2 separate regions of the Homo sapiens genome follow, and region 2 is linked to region 1. Evidence: promoter capture Hi-C in human tissues and cell types (Jung and others, 2019). All regions are on one chromosome and are shown on one strand. Each heading gives the region's core, a stretch centred on a gene start or on the middle of the fragment in contact. The rest is flanking DNA. Distances are from core to core; before and after follow the strand shown.

Region 1 (5,772 bases), core at 764-3,263:
AAGGGCAACAGAAAGGGAAGAGGAGAGGGAGAAAACAGAAAAGAAGAAGGGCCTTCAGGGTGGAGGAAGGGCAAGAGGATCCAGGCTAAGGGTCTGTTCTGGCCTCATCCTGTAGGAATCTCAGCCTCTCCCCTAAACCAGAACAGACTCACAGAGTGACCCAGTGGAAGGGGCCTCAGAAGACATCCAGTTGAGTCTCTTCCGTCACTGAACAGATGAGGAAACTGAGGCTCAAAGGGAAACGTCCCCATGGCAGGTTGGAAATGCGAGTCCATTTACACTCAGATGTGTCCCCTGCCCCCCACCCGTGGACATGTTTAGCTTTGGTGAGAGGATTTGAGCTGGGAAGGCCTGAATGAGGCAGCCAGAGAAGGAAAGACTGGGGTGGAGGGGGTGGTGTGAAATTGAAACAGCAACAAAAAGCCCGGCTCTCAGAAAATGGGATTTAGGTCTGGTTCCCAGAAGACTGTGTTAGACCTAAAGGGCCACTGAGGAAGACTGCGGACTTCCTTCTTTGCAGGGAGCATCTGGCTGAGGCAGCCTGGAGACAGGCACGCACCAGAAGACTTCTGGTTCCATCCAGGCCCAAGGACCACTGAACTGGAGCGGTCTTCTCCATCCCCCAGCAAGCCTGTGCGTGAGCTGGGGACAAGGGGCAGAGGAGGCAGAGGTCCCCCTCACACCAGGAAGGGAACAGCGCCACTAAAGGGCCTGGTGGAGGCAGGGTGGAGGTGGAAGGAGACTCAGCAGAAGGGGTGAGTTCTCCATGTTTACGGAACTGAACACTCCCCAGGCCTCCCACTGCCTCCCACTCCCCAGCCCCCCTCATCACCCGGATCTGAAGGATCATGTCCACCTAAATCGAGTTCAGCCTCCACCCTGCCACTCCGCCCCCCAGAGCCTCCTGGACCCTAATGCCCAGGCCCCCGACACACATACGGCACTCCCAAGTGAGGTGTGACCAATGGCGGGAGGTGGTATCACCCAGTGACATCATTTGAGGCCCAAAGAGCTTGCATACAGGGAGAGGAGGGTCTGAGGGTCCAGGGAAGGATGTCATTGGCTCTGAAGCTCCTCTCAAAGAGAAGAAGGGGGAGTGTAGGGGAGGTCCTTCCCCTGTTTTCTCTGCCCAATCCTTAGCAACCCAAACAGAGGGCCCGAGTACCCTCCCCCTTAGCCCCAGGCCCTAGTGGTTGTATAATTCCACAGGCTATTGATGTTACATAAGCCTACTAGGCCAGCCGAGTCTCTGCCCCAGCCCCTCCCCTACAATTCAGGCCTAAAACTGGAGAAGAGATGCTTCATCCGGACCCATCCATGCCTGGCCAAAACCAAAACAACAATTAGAGCATCTTGATGCAGAGTTGTCATAGCAAGCCCCAAGCACAGGGATGGAGCCAAGACGCCCAGATGTGGAACAATGGCAGGGAGTAGGGTGGGGGTTGTTTCCGTGGAGGGTGGGAAAGATGAGCATAAAGTGGTTGGGTTTGGGACTGGAGGGTTGGGCCAGAGGGGGTTGCCCGATAGGCACTGCCCCTCAGGGCTCACCCTGGCACACACATACCCATGCACACACATACAGTCACACCAGACGCCCGGGCTGACTCCTCACGGGGGGCCTGGGTATCTGTGAGGAGCCTTGTAATGCTGTAATGCCAAAGCAGGGGTGGCAGGGTGACAGGGGAGGAGAGGCGCGCCTGCGGGCAGGAAGAGGCCTCGGTCCATTCCTTGACACCGGCCTTTCGGTCCTCTGACTTCAGCAAGGACCACGGAGGACCTTCAAACTAGGGCCAGGGGAGGATGCTTTCGTGGTCCAGAGGGCTTGCTGAGGATGACAGGGAGCCGGGAGCCGGAGGATGGAGGATGGTGCAGGCTGGGGAGATGCCGGTACCTTTCCCTGGGTCATGGTGCCGTCTCTCGGGGAAGGGGTCCCTGAGGCCCGGGTGGCCGCTTGGGTAACCGCAGCCTGCCTGCGTCTCTTCCTTCCTCCGCGTGGGTTCTAGCAACATCCACTGCAGCCGGGCCAGGCGAGCCGGCGCGTACCATCGGCGCGGGGGGAGGAGAGGGCCGGGCCTGGGAAGATGCTGCGGAGGACGCTGCGGATTCGCGAGCCCGGGGTAAGGCGGCGGCGCACCGCCCCCTCCCGCCGCTTCCCCCCCACCCCGCCCCCCACCGCCGCCCTTAGCCCTCCCCCGGGATGAGAGAGAGTCGCGCTGCGGAGCAACCCCAGTGGATGGGTCCGCGGGGGCTGAGCGGGCGGAGGACGCGGGAACTCCGTGACACCGACCAGCTGACGCTGCCCGCGTGAAACCAGAGCCGGGCATCAGGGCCTCATCTCCACTGTCTCTGCACCTCTCTGCAGCTCCAGCTGCGCCTCTGCCTTTTCCTCCTCCCTCTTTGGATGCGGCCCTGATTTCTGTCTCCATCTCCACCTCCCCTCTCATCATCTATTTCATCATCCCTGGTAGAGGGGAAGGTCTGGAAGTCTCGCCTGTGCTGCCCGCTTCTAACAGGGCCCCTGGGCCCTGCGCTCCTGTGGGCCTGGGGCAAGCCAATAGCCACCTATCCTTGCTCCTTTTTCTCGCCTGTGAAATGCACACAGTAGGTCCCTCCCTGCCTTGGTTCACAGAGACATGGGGTGGGAGGACACCTCTTCTGTTTCTTTCAGCCCTGCTGGGACATTTCACGGGGTCTTTCTGGAGACACCGCTAGTTCTGTCTCAAAGCCTCTACAACCCCTGCCAGAGCTCTCTTCCTGCCTCCACGCTTAGCTTCCATCACCCCGTCTCCATCTTCCCCCCTTTTCCATTCCTCCCATGCCAGAGCTCGTTCTCCCCGCTTCCCCAGACGTGTCACTGGGACCCAGCCATCATCAGGCCCCGTTTTCTGTAGCTGCTGCAGTGTCACTATGGGGTTTGCAATCTCAAGAGCTGGGATCAAGTCCCAATTTAGTCACCCACTGGCCGCGTGGCCTTGGCAAGGCCCTTAACCTCTCTGAGCTGCAGCTCCTACGAAAAAGAGGCTTAGAACAGAGCTCTGTCCATCCTAGATTGACTGTCAGACGCACAGGTTATGGCCGTAAAAGCACATAAAAGACCAAGAAGTGCTGGAAGTATGTGAGGTATTATTAACTGAGGAGTCTCCTACCAGAATGTCCTGGGCTGCCCCAGAGCGAGCACCCACAAATCTGCCTAAAAGAAGTATCTGAACCTGCTAGGATGGGACGAGAAACTAAGACCTGGGACAGGTGGGGGTGGCCACTTACCTTCTGCTTCCCTCTCACTGCCCAGGGACCCACCTAAAGTCCCTGAGAAAGCAGGGCCCAGGTAGGCAGACAAATTATCAAAGTCTTTTTTTTTTTTTTTTTTTTTTTTTTTACAGAGAAAATCTTGTTCTGTTGCTCAGGCTGGAGTGCAGTGGCACAATCTTGGCTCACTGCAACCTCTGTCTTCCGGGTTCAAGTGATTCTCCTGCCTCAGCCTCCTGAGTAGCTGGGATTACAGGCGCGCACCACCACGCCCGGCTAATTTTGTATTTTTAGTAGAGACAGGGTTTCACCATGTTGGCCAGGCTGGTCTCCAACTCCTGACCTCAAGTGATCCACCCTCCTCAGCCTCCCAAAGTGCTGGGATTACAGGTGTGAGCCACCGTGCCTGGCCTAATTATCAAAGTCTTTATCCCACCCCTTTTTGCCCTTTGTCCCCCACTCCATAACCACCAATTTTGCACAAACACACTTAAGCCTGGGCCTCCGTGTCCAGAGGCTCTCTCAACCCTACAAACCCGAGCTCTTCTTCCAGCAAGCTGTGCCCTGGTCCCCAGCACTGCACCTGGAGCTCTGACCAGCTGGTCCAGGTTCTGGCCTTCCCTCCTTCTCTGCATCTGCATCCTGGAAGTGTTTTCCTTCTCCTGCTTGACAGCTTGAATGCCACCTCCTCCAGGAAGCCTCCTTCCCCCCCTAGTTGGGGTTAGATGCTCCTCTTCTGTAGTTCCCTAGCACCCTGATGTAACGCCTGTCACGTGGCGCTGTGAAGTTTCTTTGACTGACTCCCTGTTACACTCTAAGCTCCTGTAGCAGTTTTGGTGTGAGCTGGACTGAATGCAGTGCCAGGTGTGTGGAATGCACTCCATCAATTGTAGCTAGTAATATTTCCCAGACATGGCACTACGCAGAGCCTGACTTTCATCAGCCTTAGCACTTTCATGTTTGTGAATCACTCCTGTTCCTTCTCTCGCATTCACTCTGCTCCAGCCACACAGGCCTCTTGGCCATTCCTTAGACTGGGCTGAGCATGCGCTTAGCTGAGGCCCTTTGCACTGGCTGTGTCTTGTTTGGAAATTCTACAGATCATTGCGTGGCTCCCTCCCTCACTAACTTCACTACTCTGCTCAGACATTATCTCAGGGGTGGTCTTCCTGATCTTATACAAAGTAGCAGTGCCACCCGCATACCCCCACCCAGCAAATTGGACAGTCCCTTTTTTCTGATTAAGCTTTATGTTTTCTATGTCAATTGTCACCTCTGACATGTTTTGTTTTGTTTTGTTTTGTTCTCTCTCTCTCTCCCATTAGAACGTCAGCTACAGAAGAGGAGGAGTTTGGGGGTGTTGTGTCATTGCTTTACACCTGTGGGTTAAAATAGTGACTGACATGGATGTGGTGGGTTGATAAGTATTTGGTTGAGTAAAGTACAGCATTATACAAAATCCTTATATTCCTCAGACATGTTGACATTGTCAGTGCTATGATGTTTCTCAGATGTTGGACTCTATTACCTTGACATTGTGTATATGTCCCCCCAACTTTTTTTTGAGACAGGGTCTCGCTGTGTTGCCTAAGCTGGAGTGCAGTGGTATGATCATGGCTTGTTACAGTCTGAATTTCTGGGCTCAAGCATCCTCCTGCCTCAGCCTCCCAAGTAACTAGGGTATATGTTCCCATGAGGTGGTCTTTGGATATTACTCAAAAAAATTTTTGTTTTGAGGTGTAGTTTTGCTCTTGTTGCCCAGGCTGGAGTGCAGTGGCACGATCTCAGCTCACTGCAACCTCCGCCTCCCAGGTTCAAGCGATTCTCCTGCCTCAGCTTCCTGAGTAGCTGGGACTACAGGCGCACACCACCACGCCTGGCTACTTTTCCTATTTTTGGTAGAGACAGAATTTCACCACGTTGGCCAGGCTGGTCTCGAACTCCTGACCTCAGGTGATCTGCCCGCCTCAGCCGCCCAAAGTGCTGGGATTACAGGCATGAGCCACCGTGCCCAGCTGACATTACTCAAATATTAAACATTCGTGTAACATTCCTCTGGGATCTGGTGATAGTTAGGTGTGGTAGTCAAAAGCCAAGGCTACACAGTCAAGCAGCTTTGCTCCAGATCCCGGCTCCTCTATTTAAAAGCTGTATGAGAGCTTGTGAGAGATGAGTTGTGAAAGTTGTGAGAATGAGGAGAGTTAGGATTTGTAAGGCACTTAGAACAGAACCAGGCATCTAACACATGCTCTATGCATGTTTGATGACTATAAGCACACAATAAGCTCTTGGTGTTAGCTATTAGTGTTAGCCTTAAGGGTTCCACAAATATTGTTTAATGAAATAATTTCCACCACATAAGGCAGCTCAGTTCCACAGTTACTCATTTGTTCATTCATTTGTCATGTCTGTGGTCTCTGTCCCTGTTGACACATTTGGTAGAAGCCATTCTTCAAGAAGAATGAGATCCCTTCAGACTCACCCCCGGGCAGGAGGGGACAGGCAGTGCTGGGGTGGCTGAGGGCT
Region 2 (6,319 bases), core at 1,411-3,910, 1.2 Mb after region 1:
AGGAGTTAAAGACGAGCCTGTCCACATGGTGAAACCCCATCTCTACTAAAAATGCAAAAATTAGCCAGGCATGGTGGCACACGCCTGTAATCCTAGCTACTTGGGATTCTGAGGTGGGAGAATTATATAAACCTGGGAGGTGGAGGTTGCAGTCAGCCGAAATCGCACCACTGCACTCCAGCCTGGGCAACAAAGTGAGATTCCATCTCAAAAAAAAGAAAAAAAAAGTTCCAGAAAGGAGATTAAATTAATATCTGGCTGGGGAATACATAGGGTTAATTTAGCAAGACTTTCTGAAGTTAGGGAGCTTGATTTTTAAAAAGGAGTGACCAGTGAAACAGAAGAGGGAGACCATTCCATAGCAGATTACAGAAGCCAAATGTAGCTAGAAGAGAGGCGATGTGCTAGGGGAAAAAATGTTGAGAAAAGAGATTCGAGTTGACCTCAGGAGTTTCAAGTTACCTAGTTTAAAGCTTTGAGTATCGTTGGGGAGGGGTGAGAGTGTTTGCATGTGATTGAACATGGAGTAGGAAGCTGTGGTTAAGATTTAAACTGGGATAACATCACACTCTGTCCTCTACTTTAATGAGGCAGGATTGCAGATGTTATGGGCTGATGCCAAAAAGGCTAGAAGAATAAAGACAAATATGTGGAAGCACAATATAAAGTTTCATCAACTTCCATACCGGGAGATGGAGCATTTGAGACAGGTATGGGCCAGGGGCAGATATCCAGAAGTTCATGGTGAGGTAATTACATTTAATCAAGATCTCAAGGTTTTTTCTTTCATTTGTTGTTCACCATTGATCAAGCTTTTGCCCTTTGCCGTGAGAACAAAATATTGAACTGAATGAGGCATCAGATTATTTGTAAGAATTGGGTTCATCCAGAGTTGTAGCCCTCCATAGCAAGAGCTCCATAGAATTTCTGGCACACTTTCTGAATGAAAGTTGTAAATACTAAAATCTAATTAGTTTCTGAACATAACAAAAGTCTGCAAGGGGGCTGGGCGCGGTGGCTCACGCCTGTAATCCCAGCACTTTGGGAAGCCGAGGCAGGCAGATCACGAAGTCAGGAATTCGAGACCAGCCTGGCCCACAAGGTCAAACCCCATCTCTACTGAAAATACAAAAATTAGCTGAGTGTGGTGGCGGGCGCCTGTAATCCCAGCTACTCGGGAGGCTGAGGCAGGAGAATCGTTTGAACCCGGGAGGCAGAGGTTGCAGTGAGCCAAAATCATGCCATTGCACTCCAGCCTGGGTGACAGGGCAAGACTCCATCTCAAAAAAAAATAATAATAAAATGAAAATAGAAGTCTGCAAGGGCAGCCAGGCACAGTGGCTCTCGCCTATAATCTCAGCATTTTGGGAGACTGAGGTGGGCGGATCACCTGAGGTCAGGAGCTTGAGACCAGCCTGGCCAACATGGTGAAACCCCATCTCTACTAAAAATTCAAAAATTAGCTGGGCATGATGGCAGGCGCCTGTAGTCCTAGTCCCAGCTACTCGGGAGGCTGAGGCAGGAGAATTGCTTGAACCTGGGAGGCGGAGGTTGCAGTGAGTGAAGATCGCGCCACTGCACTCCAGCCTGGGTGATAAGAGCAAAACTCTGTCTCAAAAAAAAAAAAGTCTGCAAGGATCCAAAGGGCAGCATGAAAGTAGTATTTGGTGGTGACTTGATGGGTCGTTTTGAAGCTGAGAGTAAGAATCTAGGACCCATTCCGCAGATCAGGAAGAGTTCACTGAAGGATTTGGTATAATGTCAGGCTCTGTACTAGACATTATTTGGGATACAAAAGTAAATAAGTCAGAGGTTTTGTCCTCAAGGAACTAACCATCCAGAAGTAAATAGAAATAAACTTGGGGACCACATGCAGTGCTCATGCCTGTAATCCTAGCACTTTGGGAAGCCAAGGCGGGCAGATCACTGGAGGTCAGGAGATTGATACCAGCTTGTCCAACATGGTGAAACCCTGTCTCGACTAAAAATACAAAAGTTAGCCTAGAGTGGCGGCTTATGCCAATAATCCCAGCTACTCGGGTGGCTGAGGCAGGAGGATCACTTGAACCCAGGAGGCAGAGGTTGCAGTGAGCTAGGATTGCACCACTGCACTCCAGCCTAGGTGACAGAGCAAGACTCCATCTCAAAAAGAAAAAGAAAGAAATTTGGTCCTTTTTCTGGGCTGTAATAGAAGTTTACTGTACAGTGGGGTGGATGGATTGTCTATTGTATTAACAACTTATTTGGGTTAAAACTGCATCTGTGTTTATTTCTGCTTAGTTCCGCCAAGACGTCACCAAGTGTCTTTTCCTAGGTATTATTTCCATTCCACCTTTTGCCAACTACCTGGTCTTCTTGCTAATGTGAGTACAGACTTCCATCTCCCCAACATCTTGAAGATGTATCAATTTTTTTAAATTAAGAATTACTTTAAACAGCACTCATTTCAGAAGATAGGCAGAGGTTATCAAACTTCTGCTCCAATCTTCTCATTATTCCAAGGTTCATAAAAACCACTTAGGAAGACCTTGGTTACTGTGACACATCACAGCTATAAGTGTAGGTGGCCTAGACTCTCCCTATCTCTTAGCTGCCCTGAGTCATGTGAAATAAGATAGTGACCTTCTCCATCATCCCTAGAGGCTCTCTCCCCGAGAGAGAGTACTTTTAGACTAATTTCTTTAGGAAAAGTACATTTCGTATTCTGATAACATTTTTATTACTTCATATCCAAAAATGACATTTCTTAACTGTGATCTTGCATGTCATTCATTATCTATTGCTGTATAACAAATAACTTCAAAGCTTAATAGCATAAAACAATCGTATAAATCATTTTCATGATTTTGTAGCTCAAGAATTAGGGCAGTGCTCAGGTGGGCAGTTGATTTCTCTCTTCCATATAGGGTTGACAGAGGTCCCTTAGTGATATTTAGCTGCTGAATGGACTAGTCTGGAAAGTCCAATATCACTCTTATGTCTGGTGCCCTGGCAGGGATGGCTACACGGCTAGAACTGTCAACCAGAGTGCCCAGATGTGGCTTCTTCAGTATGGCAGCCTCAAGATAGTGGGACTTCTAACTTGGGAGCTCAGGGCTCCAAGAGTGAGGGGTTCTAGTAAGAATCTACATGACTTTATAACCTTGTCTTGAAGGTCACATAGAGTCACTGCTGCTCTGTCCTATTGATTGAATCAGTCACCTAGAATGAAAAAAGGGCAGGATGTAGACCTCAGCTCTCCATGAGACAAGTGCCAGAGAATTTGAGGTCATGTTTTAAAACCACCAAACACGTAGATAAATAAATTAAAAAACAAATCGTGGCCAGGTGCAGTGGCTCACGCCTGTAATCCCAGCACTTTGGGAGGCCGAGGCGGGCAGATCACAAGGTCAGGAGATTGAGACCATCCTGGCTAACACAGTGAAACCCTGTCTCTACTAAAAATACAAAATACTAGCTAGGCGTGGTGGCGGGTGCCTGTAATCCCAGCTACTTGGGAGGCTGAGGCAGTAGAATCGCATGAACCCAGGAGGCAGAGGTTGCAGTGAGCCGAGATCGCGCCACTGCAGTCCAGCTTGGGTGACAGAGCGAGACTCTGTCTCAAAAAAAAAACAACAAATCAGTTGCCTTTTACATACTGGGTCCACATAAGGACTGTGCTATAGTTAGATTGTCAACATCACATATAGTGTCCTGGTCAGGCTGCAACTCTCTCCAAAGCATGCTCTTCACATGCTTTAGTTCAAAATGAGTCATTATATCTGATTGCTGCGTGGCAGGCTATTCTGCTAGTCCTTCCTTTCACATCCCATTTCAGTAATGGTGCTTGAAATTGTGCTTCAGTGTGTCTTATAAACTTTGGTCTGAGAGTCACTTAAGAGAAAGGGCTGACTGTAGTGGCTCTCACCAGTAATCCCAGCACTTGGGGAGACTGAAGCAGGAAGATTGCTTGAGACCAGGAGTTTGAGACCACCCTGGGCAATATAGCAAGACCCGTCTCTGCAAAAAAATTAAAAACTTAGCCAGGCATAGTGGCCTGTGCCTGTAGTCCCAGCTACTCAGTAGGCTGTGGTGGGAGGATTGCTTGAGCCTAGGAGGTCGAGGCTGCAGTGAGCTGTGATCTTGCCACTGTACTCCAGCCTGGGTGAGAGAGGGGACCCTGTCTCTTAAAAAAAAAAAAAAAAAAAAAAAAACTGAAAAAGAAAAAGAACACTGAGGTAGGGAAATAGTGTCTCCATCTCTTCTTCCTAGTATTCATGTCTACCAAATGCTTTCTTTGGCTTCCTCTGAAAGAAGCCAGTTTCAGCAAGTGAGTTTGTGATTCTTTCTCCTTTCAGGTACCTGTTTCCCAGGCAACTACTGATCAGGCATTTCTGGACCCCAAAACAACAAACTGATTTCTTAGATATCTATCATGCTTTCCGGAAGCAGTCCCACCCAGAAATTATTAGTTATTTAGAAAAGGTCATCCCTCTCATTTCTGATGCAGGACTCCGGTGGCGTCTGACAGATCTGTGCACCAAGGTATTCCTGCAGTTAACCCTTCCTACAAATGTGGAATCTTGTTAGATTCAGTGTGCACTAAACTAGGTAAGAGGAGTAGTCAGGACTTTCCTAACATCTACAAATCTCTTACCTCTTCCAAGATACAGCGTGGTACCCACCCAGCAATACATGATATCTTGGCTCTGAGAGAGTGTTTCTCTAACCATCCTCTGGGCATGAACCAACTCCAGGCTTTGCACGTGGTGAGCACTTTGAGGGCTTCTCTTTTCCATAGCATCACCATGTTTCAGGTGTTTGCTTGAGCTCATACTATTTGCCTTTCCCCTCCTATGTGGTTGTGTTACAGAAAGCCTTGAGCCGGGCCATGCTTCTCACATCTTACCTGCCTCCTCCCTTGTTGAGACATCGTTTGAAGACTCATACAACTGTGATTCACCAACTGGACAAGGCTTTGGCAAAGCTGGGGATTGGCCAGCTGACTGCTCAGGAAGTAAAATCGGTAAGAGCTTGATTGCAACATCAACCCTCAACCCTTGGTGTGCTTTTGAGCCTATGGCAGGCCGGAGGTTTACAGGGGCTCCTTGTCTTGTTTGTTTATAGAACCCAGCTTCTTTATTCTCTCACTTCATTTATTTATTTATGATTTATTTTTATTTATTTATTTATTTTGAGACAGAGTCTCATTCTGTTGCCCAGGCTAGAGTACAGTGGCACAGTCTTGGCTCACTGCAACCTCTGCCTCCCGGTTCAAGTGATCCTCCTACCTCAGCCTCCCAAGTAGCTGGATTACAGGTGTGCACCACCACGCCCAGCTAATTTTTTGTATTTTTAGTAGAGATGGTTTCACCATGTTTGCCAGGCTGATCTCAAACCCCTGGCCTCAAGAGATCCATCAACCCAAAGTGCCGAGACTACAGGTGTGAGCTACCGCACCCAGCATATTTATTTATTTTTCAGTCTCACTATTTTAACCAAGCTGGTCTTGAACTCCTGGCCTCAAGCAATCCTCCCATCTTGGCCTCCTAAAGTGCTGGGAATACAGCCGTGAACCACTGTGCCCGGCCTTTTTAAAAATTATTTTTTAATTAGCCAGGAGTGGTGGCACATGCCTGTAATCCCAGGTACTTGGGAGGCTGAGACATGAGAATTGCTTGAACCCAGGAGGTGGATTGCAGTGAGCCAAGATCGCACCACTGCACTCCAGCCTGGGTGATAGAGTGAGACTCTGTCTCAAAAAAAACCCAAAAAATAAAATAAAATTATTTTTTATTTTTGTAGAGACAGGGTCTCACTATGTTGCCCAGGCTGGTCTTGAACTCCTGGGCTCAAGTGATCCTCCCGCCTTGGCCTTTCAAAGTGTTGGGATTACAGGCATGAGCCACTGCGCCCAGCTCCTCACCTCATTTCTGTGTCTTTTTTCTCAAGAAACTTAGCTAGGGGGAAGGAATTGCCCACAGAAATTTTGGTTTGTATTTCTTTTCTTCTGGCACTTCAGAAAGCAAGGATACTGCAGTTTAGACCTACTATTTTAGCTTATATAGGACTCTTTGCTTTTGTCATCTTGTCCATCACTAGTTTTCAAATTGCCATGAGGAAAGGCTTCATGTGGGAATGAGATTGTAACTTTTTTTTTTTTTTTTGAGACAGAGTCTCGCTCTGTTGCCCAGGCTGGAGTGCAGTGGCATGATCTTGGCTCACTGCAACCTCCGCCTCCCAGGTTCCAGTGATTCTCCTGCCTCAGCCTCCCGAGTAGCTGGGACTGCAGGTGCATGCCACCACGCCTGGCTAATTTTTGTATTTTTTAGTAGAGATG

The links. Contacts are between HindIII fragments. The study calls those that stand out against the background at their distance.
Region 2: a fragment that was not itself captured here is called in contact with the fragment with the promoter of FAIM2 in region 1 in 1 of the 25 tissues and cell types used here (liver).

Annotation. Positions count from the first base shown.
Region 1 is chr12:49,901,887-49,907,658 of GRCh38, forward strand. FAIM2 (Fas apoptotic inhibitory molecule 2) reads right to left here and starts at 2,014. Exons shown (of 12, transcript NM_012306.4): 1 at 1,892-2,014. The coding sequence starts at 1,906. The HindIII fragment of the contact is 14,088 bases long and covers 1-5,206 here.
Region 2 is chr12:51,051,498-51,057,816 of GRCh38, forward strand. It overlaps LETMD1 (LETM1 domain containing 1), which reads left to right. Exons shown (of 9, transcript NM_015416.5): 3 at 595-710; 4 at 2,281-2,363; 5 at 4,338-4,524; 6 at 4,647-4,748; 7 at 4,853-5,005. Among named protein-coding and RNA genes, the nearest start is that of LETMD1, 6.3 kb to the left of the region's middle. The HindIII fragment of the contact is 7,302 bases long and covers 1-6,311 here.